2 separate regions of the Homo sapiens genome follow, and region 2 is linked to region 1. Evidence: promoter capture Hi-C in human tissues and cell types (Jung and others, 2019). All regions are on one chromosome and are shown on one strand. Each heading gives the region's core, a stretch centred on a gene start or on the middle of the fragment in contact. The rest is flanking DNA. Distances are from core to core; before and after follow the strand shown. Region 1 holds the start of COL1A2 (collagen type I alpha 2 chain). Region 2 overlaps LOC112267858 (a long non-coding RNA gene).

Region 1 (5,302 bases), core at 782-3,281:
AAAAATTATAGGTTAATACAGGATACAAGTGTGGCCAAGCTTGCAGTAGGATGAATCACCCCAAAAATTGCTTTAATTAGGTGGCCAAGAAGTGCGTTATTTGAAGTGAGAACATCTGTTGCAACAGTCACAATTTAGGAGGGTGGACCACATCCAGCACTGACATTTAAGGGCAATTTACGAGAATTACTGTTAAATTACAAGAATGATATGTTTACTTCATTGTGTCCATCAGTAGGAAGAATAATTATGCCTGACTTGATTAACGGAAGTCCTTATGATTTTGGAAATTTGCCTTTTAATTACTCAGACATGGACCATTTTGAAGAATGTGTGTTTGATAACATTTATTCCAGACTGTGGTTGGCTGTTGATCAGAAGGTAAGTTGCCTTTGTACCTTCAAATTTCCCTAAGTCTGCCTTCATTTTATTCTCTAGGAGCCGACTCTTTCCTCCCACTCTCAAGATCTCATTAAAAATATGAACTCGGTAATGTGAATTTGTTCACTGCAATTACTCCTTAGTATCCACAGTATGTATACTAAAAGTGAATGAAGGGGGAAGAGACACACAGACACACAGACACACACACACACACACACACACACACAAGCACACAAATGCATTAGAAATTATGCAGTGGTAGACACCGTGCTGTGTGGGTGGAACAACTTTTTGGAGTACTGGGTGTGGTCAGACAATACCATCCCCCATCTAGTCAATATCTTTGTCTAGCACTTTGGCAGCCATTTTCAAGATGAAAACGGACTGATCTTCTTCATTCTCTGTTGACATGAAAGTCTGGCCATGGAACCTAGAGCTGGAAAGTGGCCTTGGGGTCCCTTTAATCTCTGTCTCACATTTTAGAAAAGGCCGTTTGACTTGCCCAAAGTCACGCAGCAAATTGGTGTCAGACTCATGGGAAAAACCCCGGTCTCTTGAGTCTCATCTCAATGTTGATATTTCTCAACTTGCTGCGTTCATAATGTTTGCTTATCACTGGGAACATGTCAAAGGGGTAATTCTCAGGCTCAAACAAAATTTAGAGCAGATTTGAGTTAAAAAATGTTACCATTTCCATGACTAGAAAGTGAATTGAGACACTTATATTACTTTTCAGAATGTACCCACTCCAAGTAGCATCCATTCTTCTTTCCAGGGTTCACTGACTAGCCACTGGGAAAGGCTCCAACCAGAAATGCTGATCATTAATCTGTATAAATCCGTAGAAGCTTTAATTGGGATTCCATCTGCTTAAGGCCCTGTCCCCTGTACTTTCATTTTCCTTCCTCCAGAGGGCGCCTTATAACCATCATCATATCAGCATCGTCATCCTCCTCCTCCGGACAAGCCTTACAATGCCCAGAAGATAAAAGCTCTTAGGAGGTGAGTTTTACATTACTCAGTTGAAGGGCTTTCTAACGCAGGCCTCAAGTTTTACAAGGTGGACATCAGTGCGGTTATGGGGCCTGTGGGGTGCAGGCCCTTGACTTCCTCCACCACATTGGTCGTTAATATCTCATCCTTAGGGAAAAAGACCTTCCGCTCCCTTTGGGGGTTACTAAGCTGAGGAGCCAGACCGAGTTAACTGTCTCACTCTGAACTTAGAGGAAAAGTTCCCTAACTTTTGGCAAGGCTTTTATGTTTTCATTTTTTAAAGTAATTTCCATGTTTCTTATCAATTCCGGCGTTTTCCCACATGCCTGAGAGTCTGCCCTCCAAGTGTACCTGGAATTCAGGTTACAGGTTTTCCTTTTCAGGGCAGGGTGCCCTCCCATCTAACCTCTCTACCCAGTCTCCCCCAAACAAGCTGAAGGCACTTACATTGGCATGTTGCTAGGCATAAGGTTACTGCAAGCAGCAACAAAGTCCGCGTATCCACAAAGCTGAGCATGTCTAGCACTTAGACATGCAGACTCCTTGTGTCGCAGAGCCCCTGGGTCACCGGCGGAGGTATCACCTGGCGGGCGCGGGCATGCAGTCGTGGCCAGTACCTCCAACTTAGCCGAAACCTCCTGCTGCCGTGGTGCTAAAATAATAAAGCCCGGATCTGCCCTATTTATACGGCAAAAGTTTCCCTGGCCCTAGGGTGCCTCCAAAAGGGCCTCCACCAATGGGAGGGCTGGGGCTGGGGGCCCGGGCAGCCACAGCTGGGAGGAGCCTGCGGGGGCGCAGAGGAGGGAGCGAATGGGGGAAGGGACGTGGCCACGGGGCTGGCTTCTTAAATTGGTTCCATTCTTTTTGAGGACGTGGACACTTTTGAGGCTTTCAAGGGGAAACTCTGACTCGTTGTCTGCATACCTCCGCCCTCCGCATCCTCCCGCCCTCCCCCGCCCTTTCCAAGTTTGGAAACACTATGGGACACGTCGGAGTGCTCTGCAGCCCCGACATGGGCAGAATTTGCAGATCTCCGGCGATCAAAGCAGGAGCTGTCCAGTCCCGCCTCACCTGTGCCCTGTAGGCCACTTGTAGGGTGGAGGGCTCCAGCGGGAGCGGAGGGGGCAGAGAAGGAGGGAGGGAAGACTCGATAGCGTGGCGCAGCCGGAGCCCGCCTCCCCGCCCCTCCACCCCTGCACCCCGCCCCCAGCCCCGTCCAGCTTTTCTCTAGCTTTGGGGCTCGTGTGCGCCCACTGTTTCAGCAGTGATGCACTCTCTTTGTCTTATGACTTCGGGAAAGGGCGGGTCCTGTCTGTGGAGGGCTGGGTTGCAGTCGGAGGGCGCCTTTTGTTGGCAGGTGGGCTGGGGAGCAGGCTCGAGGCTGCTTGGCACCCGGCTACAGGGAGGATAGGCTTTGCGAACTCTAGACTAGACCGAGTCACCTGGGGAAGTCCTTCGACCTCCTAGCTTGCCTTTGCTGAGGCTCATTCCAAAGAGGGTCTTTTGGGGGATGGTCTGGCACTCCGACACGACTCCAACCGACCTGGAGACCGAGAACTTATTTCTCAGTCTCTCCTTTCTGAGGCTGCGGTGGGGGATCTTTCATGGTTTCCAGTCTCCCCTCCCCTTCTCCATGGGCTCCTTGTCTGGATTTACCAGTTCTACCCTGAGCCTGGACCCTTCAACCCTCCCGTGAGCCCCCCGGTCCCTCTTGACCTTGCTGCTTACTCTCTGTCCCATCTCTTACAGCCACACCCAAGCACCTCCCCTAGCACATCCAGAGGCCCTTCTGATTCGAGCTTGGGGTCTTCGTAGTCTTCGCTGGTAACACCCCAAGCAGTGCGCCCACCAACGTGGATGTTAACTCTCTCCCCAGCACCCAACTTCCCTCTTCTCTGGCCGCCTCCATCCAACCCTCCACTCCCTACTAGGGAGAGGAGGAACTGGTACTTTGACCCTGAGGTGGGAGGCCAAAGGTCCTGTGCCTTTTTCTAAAGCCTCTTGGGATGGCATTCCAGGCCCTAGGTTTGAAAGGCTGTGTGTGTGTGTGTGCGCGCGCGCGCGTGTGCGTGTGTGTGTGTGTGTGTGTGTGTGTGTCAGGCCTCTCCTCTACTTGCCTAAGGTCCCCATGAGGCAGCGGGGGCCTAGTTAGAGTGCTGCTCTATCCCAGAAGTCATCGCAAAGGGGGCATCTTTAGGTCAGTTCTGTCTCTAAGAAACAGAAGCAAGTGGGCTGTAGTTCCCTGAGAATCTTTTTCCCTTCCTTCCCCCCACCCCCTCCCCGCTTTTTTTGCTTTGCCTTAAGGAAGAATTTCTGCAGAAGTTAACTCCATCAGCAGCTTCTGTAAATAAAAGGGACTATTCTAAAGCAGGTTACTCTTTCTAAATGTAAAAGAAGAAAAAAAGGTTAATGCAAGTAAAAGTGGATAACCAAAAACTATAATAAACTCTTGTTTTATTCTAATTAAAGGCACTCACTTGGGAGACCACTTTGGATGATTTTTTGAAGTAACTGGGAGTGAAAGAATTTGAAAGGGTTACTGGTCATTCCTAGAAGGGGGTTTACAGGGAGCAATCCACATTCAAATTTTTTTCTAACTAGGCAACAATGTTTGAAGTTTTCTAGGTTCTAGGAACAACAACAACAAAAGACCTGAGGTTGAATTGTATATTCCAAGAACATTTTTAACATTTCCCTGAAATATCACCGTTACAGAACTAACAAAAAACTTTTAAAGTGGAAATCATTTTTATCAGGAAAGAAAAACTTCAATACTACATCATAACAAATTTTTTTCTGCATATCAGAAGAGTGAGAAATGATTTCTAAGAATCATTGTTACCACTGTGCTGAATTACCTTTGCAGGGCATATGTGTGTATTTGTCCTGTGTTGCTGAGAGTCAGAGACTAATTCTGAGCAAAATGACTCAGGGTGGTAATGCAACAGATTTATGAAAGAAACCCTCCAAATACCCTTCAGTGAGGTTATCTGATAACGCTTCTGGGGTCAAGTTGGCTCAATCATTGGATTTGCAATAGATATCCCAAGTTTTAAACATTTCATTGTAGGTTTTGTTGTTGTTGTCAAAATAGTTTAAAACATAGAATGTTTTTAGAAGTGTGATTATAATTTCTCTTTTAGCCAAAAAAGAAAAATCCTCAGCAAGTTTTTGAGAATTAGAGGACTGTAAATTGAAGCAGACATCTATAAACTTAGAGGGAAAACGTCTCTGCTAAAGGCAGCAGAGTGAACTGATAACTTGAAAAGCATTCCTGGAAACTGATGCAAATACCAAATGCCGCTGTGCTCCCTCCCTGCTGATGTGGCAGGGTTTGAAGCAGGCAGCCGTCAGCATTTGGTGGGAGGCCCTGGACCTAGAAACAAAAAATGAAAGTGGAGAAAACCAAACAAGAATCTTTCTTTCTTAAAGTGAGAATCAAGTTCTAATTGCAGCTGTTTTTCCATATAACTTGGGGGAAAATAGTTGATTAGGTGTTTGTTTTAAAGGAGGAATTTTTAGTGGTCAGTTAGATCTCTGTTAAATATTTTTGTGACTCCAAATAAGGAGCAGTTTTTCCTGGGGATGGGGGTGGGACTGGTAGAGCTGTGAGAGCTGACCCAGAACCTGAACTGAATGCCCTGGTGAGGGCCCTGATGGTTCTAGTGTGGGGAGAGGGGAGAGGGAGGGAGGAGAAAATGAGTAGAAGGAAAAACAAGTAAGGGGTGGGGTGGGGTCAAGACTGAGAGTAGAGGGATGGAAGAAGGGAGGCAGAGGAGACTAAAGATTCCTACAACTTTGGTGCTAGACGGTTAATACCTGGGTTCCTATGCCCAAATTATTTTCTATGAAAGAAAAGATAATTTCTTTAGCTTCCTATAACCCACTGATTACAAACTGGGCCACATGTTTATATATGGCAAGA
Region 2 (6,077 bases), core at 2,484-4,983, 50 kb after region 1:
GCAGCTGGAAATCATTAAGGAAACTTGCAGGAGACAGTGATTAAAGCAGGATGGAATTTCCACTCTCCCCGCCCCCTCTCTATTTTTATGGTACTTTAAGCAAGTTAGTGTTCCTTTTGAAATTTGAATTAGCCCTCTGACTATGAGAGTTGGAAAATTATTTTATTCCTTTACTTCCTAGAGACCACTCCACTGATTTCCGAGGCTGTTACTGCAAATGAATAAATGAACACATTTGGAACTAACTGGTGCTCAGCAGCGGTGTGCCTCATATTTCATGATTATCCTTGCATCTTCCTGGTCTGAGTCTGATTTGAAATGATAACCACTGAGTAACATTAAGAACACTTTGTGGCTGCTTTTCTAGTCTTATATGATAACTGAAGGGTACTTTTTAAGACCCCAATTTTTCCTTTCCTCCTTTCTCCTTTAATGGTTGCACCATTTTTCATCACAAGAAATAGTTGCAGATGAGTGCCTCCTAGTTCTTTTTTTCATTCCAACTTTCTATGGGTTCAACCGCAAGGCATACTGGGATCTCAGCAGCAAAGGGTGATGGGACAGGTAGAGGCTGAAGGCATAACTGGGAAGGGCTGGGATTCCTCCCTGTGGGTGTGGCATGACCAGTTTTGATGTGGGCTGGTGTTGCTACAGAGAGGTCGAATCTGGTCGTTGGGGCAGAGTGGAGGAAGCACAGAGCTGGACAGAACTTCATGTCAGGTGATGTGCATTTGAGAGTCTAAGAGATGAATCTGTCAGGAAGGTGACCCTGGCTCATGGTAGGGCATGCGGGCCAAAGAATCCAGGTCTCTGTGGGAAAGCAGGTTACCATTACACAAACTGGTCAGTTAATAGTGGGCATGAGAAAAAAATCATGATGGGCAGGGGGTGAAGAGTGAACCCAACCCAACATCAGCTGGTACTGAACTCAGGGCAGCAAAATGAATTTACAGTATTTTTTGCCTGCCTGAATGAGTTAGTTGGGGACTGGGCTTCAGCAGGTAGGGACTGGAGAACCTGGACAGAATTTTCTTCCACTGGACTACATGGACATCAAACAATTAAGTGCAACCATTCCCTCATTGTTCGTGGAGTGGAATATCTACAGTAAGACTAGGAAATAGAACTTATTGGAGGTTTTTTCTTGATGTGGGAAAATAACCTCATTATAGTGAACAAGCAGGTCTCCTGGAATGAAATCACATGACAGCTTTAATCTTTCCCCTATTTCTTTTAGCCCACTCAGTAGGACAAATTTTTTTCTGTTCTTGAATGAATTCCAGGAATGGCACAGTGGCTTTTTTCGATCACTCCACTTTCAGAAAATGAGAGATCCTTTGTGCTCTTCTAGTCACCCAGAAAGTTTTATTTTGGCCCCTAAAATGTCTACTTCTATGTAATACCTTAATAGTAGTCAAAGTTGAGGCTTCTCATTTCATTTAACGTAGGTCTGCAAGAGGTGGTAGCCTGAAGTGGGAAGGGCAGACAGGATGATCTCTGTCTCAGGCTCCCCACCTCCTGCTTCTGTGCCTCTTCCTCCTCCTCCTCCTCCTCCAGCTTGCTAATTGCAGTTTCTGACCCCTTTGGGATTGGAGGGAGCTGAGAGAGAGAGGGGAGGTAAGAGAAAAGCAAAGGCATTAGTTGATCACCACTGAAATTAGTTGATGTCTCTCAACTAATGATGATGTGCTCTCTGGGCTTGGCAGGTGTTTAAAGCTGACACTTTCTCCTGGCAAACTTTGGGGCATTATTTGAAAACTTTCCACCCACCAACCCTGAATCACTAGGGTACCTAGCCTGCAGTTCTTTTGATGTTCAGGGATGTTCCTCCCTATAGTTGCTCACTTACATGATAGTCTCCTAGTGCTACACTCCTGTGTTGGGGATACTGTGTGCCTCTAGGAAGTTATTTTGGGCAATATTTAGAGGACCTCAAGGTTGATTCTTTTCTGTTAAATTCATATAACTATGCATATTCTTTACCTCAAGAAATTCTGTTGTAACCTTTCTTCATGTCAGCTTTTCTTTGTCTTCCATCAGATCAGAATTACTAGTCAGCTAGCATTTCCCCATATTCTTTTGTCCTCTGACAGTACCTGGGGCACACCTTGAGCTCTCTACATGGTCCCATTGAAGCCACATTCCCTGGGCTTGAAATGAAGGAAAACACACCTAATCCTTCTCCCCATGGGAGTTGTGTGGGACTCAACACTCATTAACAGCTCCCTCACAAAATCCACTTTGTAAATGTCAATTTCCCTTTCAGCCTTTATTCTCCTTCATAGGCTGGAGGTGGGTGGTCTGGTCTGGGTCAAAAAAATTTTTTTTTGCTTTGCCATCTCTTAGCAAGCCTTGTATAGATGGTATCAAACTTCTCGATGGGTTGAAGGAATGCTTAACACTCATTATCTTGAAGCCACTGCACAACTAAAGAGAAATAATCAATTTTTTAAAAAATCTTGTTAAAACCTGATTCAGATATTAAGGGTTTATTGTTTTCTTGTAGGTAGAATCACCAAGAAAGAATGAGAGTTTCCTTTTTCCTCCCAACTTTATTACCTTTGAAGACTTTTTAAAAAACAATTTAACATATGTTCTTTATTTTCACAGAAGTCCAAAGTGCCAAGCTAAACCTCATATATGAATCTATTATTAAGACATAACTTTTGCTAAGACTAACAAAACAAAACACTAATTTGGCAGAGGTCTTAAAGTCTGTAGTTGAGTAGACAAACTATTAGATTGATTAAAGAGATTGTCACACAAGGACAGTCTCCTAATTTGCTGAGCATTGTATCTCAAGGTTAAAAAATTCTGGCTACATCTTAAAGCAGGGAAGATCAATTAGAACATTCATTAGATTCCTATTTACACTTTAATTGTCAACTCTGCTCATTTGTTGGAAGCCTTTTTTAGTCATTAGTGTCTGTCAGTAAGAAATATGTCTTAATTTCGCTTATATTCATTTATTCATCCTTTCATTCAATCAACAAACATTAATAATGTGCCAAGCCCTTTGTCAGCTTTTAAAAGTATACTAATAAAAAAGTCAAAGCTTACCCTCAAGGATGTATTCACCTCAAATTCTTATGTAACCAAAATTAGTAAAAATGTGTTACGTTTTACTAAAGTTAGAAAAATAATTGCCTTTCACAACAGAAATATATAAAGATGACCCTAATAAATGTACATACTGATCATTCTTTTCTGCTTGTGGTTTTAGCCCATGATTCAGGTTTAAAATATTTAAGGGTGCTTCATTTTGGCTGTTATTGGCCTTGCATTCTATTGTATATTGGGTAGCTCTTGAGAGCAGGCACTGTGTGTCTTCATTTGGTCTCTGTAGGACCACTAGAGGGTTAGTATGCCCCTCATTTTCTGTTCAGGAGAAGAAGGGGCCTACCTCACCATTGGAGTGTAGAGAGTGGAGTCAGTTAAATTTTCCAGATTCTAAACAAAGTGGTTCCTGAGTACAGCTGCTGGTGGGACTCTCACAGAAGTGAATCTTCAGAGGAAGAATATAAGCTCTCCGAAATCATCTACATGCTATAGGCACACTTTAACAGTTTTCAGATGGCTGATCTTAATGTCTAACACAAAGTTTTTGGTGTTTCTGGACAAGATCTGGGCCAGGAATTAGGAACACAGGAACTAGGTCCTGCTGGGTGCGTGGCCCACACATTTCTGAACATTTAGCAGTCAGACTGCAGCAAGAACTTTTTTCTCTTGGGGTATAATTCCAGTGATAAAATAATTTTGCATTAAAGGTTGAACGCTAATTGTTCAATTTGCTCTAGTACATCTAGTGCTTTCTTGCACCCACAATGGTACCAGTCACTGTGAAGGTTACCGAAGACACATTGACCATAGTTCTGTGTATTAGAAAGGCATATAACAACAGAATATGATGGCCAGAGGGCCAGTCCAGGAGCCTACCAGCTGCTCTGCCATGAACTAAGTATGTGAAATTGGTCATGTCATTTCATTTCTTTGGGCCTCAGTTTCTTTTCTTTCAAGATATATTTATGTTATTTAATTTGAAATATCTGGAAATATTTCAAACACAGAAAAGTACAACAAATACTATAACAAACACTCATATATCCACCAATGAAATTTAACAGTTGTTATCCTTTTTAAAAAGGGGTGAAATGTTACAGAAAAAGTTAAAATCCACCCTATCCTATTTTCTCTCCTTCCTATCCCAGAGATAACCGCTGTCTTGAAGTTGATGTGTGTTCTTGCTACCCAAATTCTTGTAATTAAAAAAACTATCTAGAGTACTATTTATGTGTTTTTAAATGTAAACAAATTGTGTCATATTGTTTCTGTGTTTTTGCAACATTTTTTGTTCACTTAATATTATATTGGTAAGATGCATCCAGGTTGATACTTTTGGTTTTATTTATTCTTTTTATCTATCTACCGTACCATTAAGTAAATATACCCCCAAATTTTCCCTTTCTCTATGCTTGAAAATTTAGGTTGTTGCTGCTTTTCTACTATTTCAAACCATGCTGTAATGGACATTGTTGCTTACAGGTCTTCTTGTGCACATGTCTGAAAGTTCTTTAGGGTAGAGCTTCCTAGGTTCTCCAATGGTGTGCTCAGACTTGGTGTCACTTTGGGTCTCTGGAAGAGCAGATGGAAAGATGAGATTAGATGTTTAAGAAATTTATTTTGGAAAGTGCTTCTGAAGGAGAAAGAAAGAAGGATGTGGTAGCAAGAGTCTTGAGATGTCAACGCAATTTTGACACCTGTGAAAGAAGAGAGGAAAGGGAGTGTTGGATTGGAAAACTCAGACCCCAGCACAGTTCTGAGACGATATACCCCAGGTTCATGGGAACTCCTCCACCAAAGGTTGTTGGTTGGAGGAGTCCAGTGTCAGGTAGGAAAGGGCTAGCTCTACTACCCTGTGCTATGCTCAGGCATGGGCTAGGGACAGCTAGGGAAAGCATGAATCCCAAAGGTGACAGCTGGAGCTAATAATCAGCTAAGTTGCCAGCATAGTTTTCTTGAAGGAAATCTTAGCAACACACCTGTACGGCCAGTGCAGATAGTGATTGCCTCAGCCCACAGTGGCTGAGAAGGGCAGAGGCAGCCAGAGGTCTGACCAATTGTGAGGTCCCAAACCTCTAGGAACTGTGGCAGGGTTACTTGGAGCTTACCATTCCTGCCAGAATAAATCCCTCTCTCCTGTTGGCTCTGGGGATTCCTCTTTGTTTCTTTGGAGGTAGACTATGTATTGAACACTCTTTTTCATCCTGTTTTATCATGTATTTCTATATGGCTGAACAGGAACAGGTTCATGTTTCCTCAATTCTCCACGTTATCAGAATTGAAAGACTTCATTTTCTTCATCTATAAAATGAGAGTCTCAGACCGCAGCACGGTCTGAAATCAATGATCTCAGGCCACTTTCTGCTTTATTAATCTGATTCTAATTTTATTTTTTAAAGTACCAAAACAAGTGGGCAAATCAATGATGTTCTATGGAGTAATGTAGTCAGAGATAACATAAGGGAAAGCTAGAAATACAAGTCTTGATTGGAAAATGGGAACAGCATGAACTGATAGACCATTTACATTTCACAAAGTAGAGGTATTATTTAAGTCTTTTAGTAGACATCTTTGAGGATAGGGTTCCTGGCTAATTCACCTTAGTGTATCTGACCCTAAATACACTGCTTGGGCCATAAATTATTTTTTAAAAAGTGTATTAATTTGAATTTAGTTGAAAGAAGAACCAGCACTATTGTTCATTGGAGGAGAGGCTTAGTTCTGCATTTAGAGACTTATATTTTACATTTTAATGATATGTGTAGGTAGAAAGGGTAAAAGTTAGAGTAAAAGTAGTTTATCTTAATATACATATATTGGGTAGAGAACTAAGCTTAAGTAGTGACGGACAAGAAGGTAGAGCTTGGACCAGGACTTTGGGGTGAGATGATCTTAATTTCATTTTAGAATAGTTGGTGCGATGGAATTCATCTGACAAAGTTATGGAAAGGTAGACAAATTACTGAGTTCTCTGAAGAAAACGATACAATGCTCAAACTGTCTATAATAGCAACAAC

The links. The method cuts DNA at HindIII sites, captures the fragments that hold promoters and counts their contacts. A contact is called where the count stands out against the background at its distance.
Region 2: a contact is called between a fragment that was not itself captured here and the fragment with the promoter of COL1A2 in region 1, in 1 of the 25 tissues and cell types used here (aorta).

The regions. Positions count from the first base shown.
Region 1 is chr7:94,391,624-94,396,925 of GRCh38, reverse strand. COL1A2 (collagen type I alpha 2 chain) reads right to left here and starts at 2,031. Exons shown (of 52, transcript NM_000089.4): 1 at 1,825-2,031. The coding sequence starts at 1,894. COL1A2-AS1 (COL1A2 antisense RNA 1) reads left to right here and starts at 4,734. Exons shown (of 6, transcript NR_147206.1): 1 at 4,734-4,808. The HindIII fragment of the contact is 19,147 bases long and covers 637-5,302 here.
Region 2 is chr7:94,342,182-94,348,258 of GRCh38, reverse strand. All of the region lies in intron 1 of LOC112267858 (a long non-coding RNA gene), which reads left to right. LOC107986821 (a long non-coding RNA gene) reads right to left here. Exons shown (of 4, transcript XR_001745275.2): 3 at 4,541-4,632; 4 at 1,196-1,599. Among named protein-coding and RNA genes, the nearest start is that of COL1A2-AS1, 47 kb to the left of the region's middle. RefSeq lists an enhancer at 1-1,609. The HindIII fragment of the contact is 5,169 bases long and covers 1,149-6,077 here.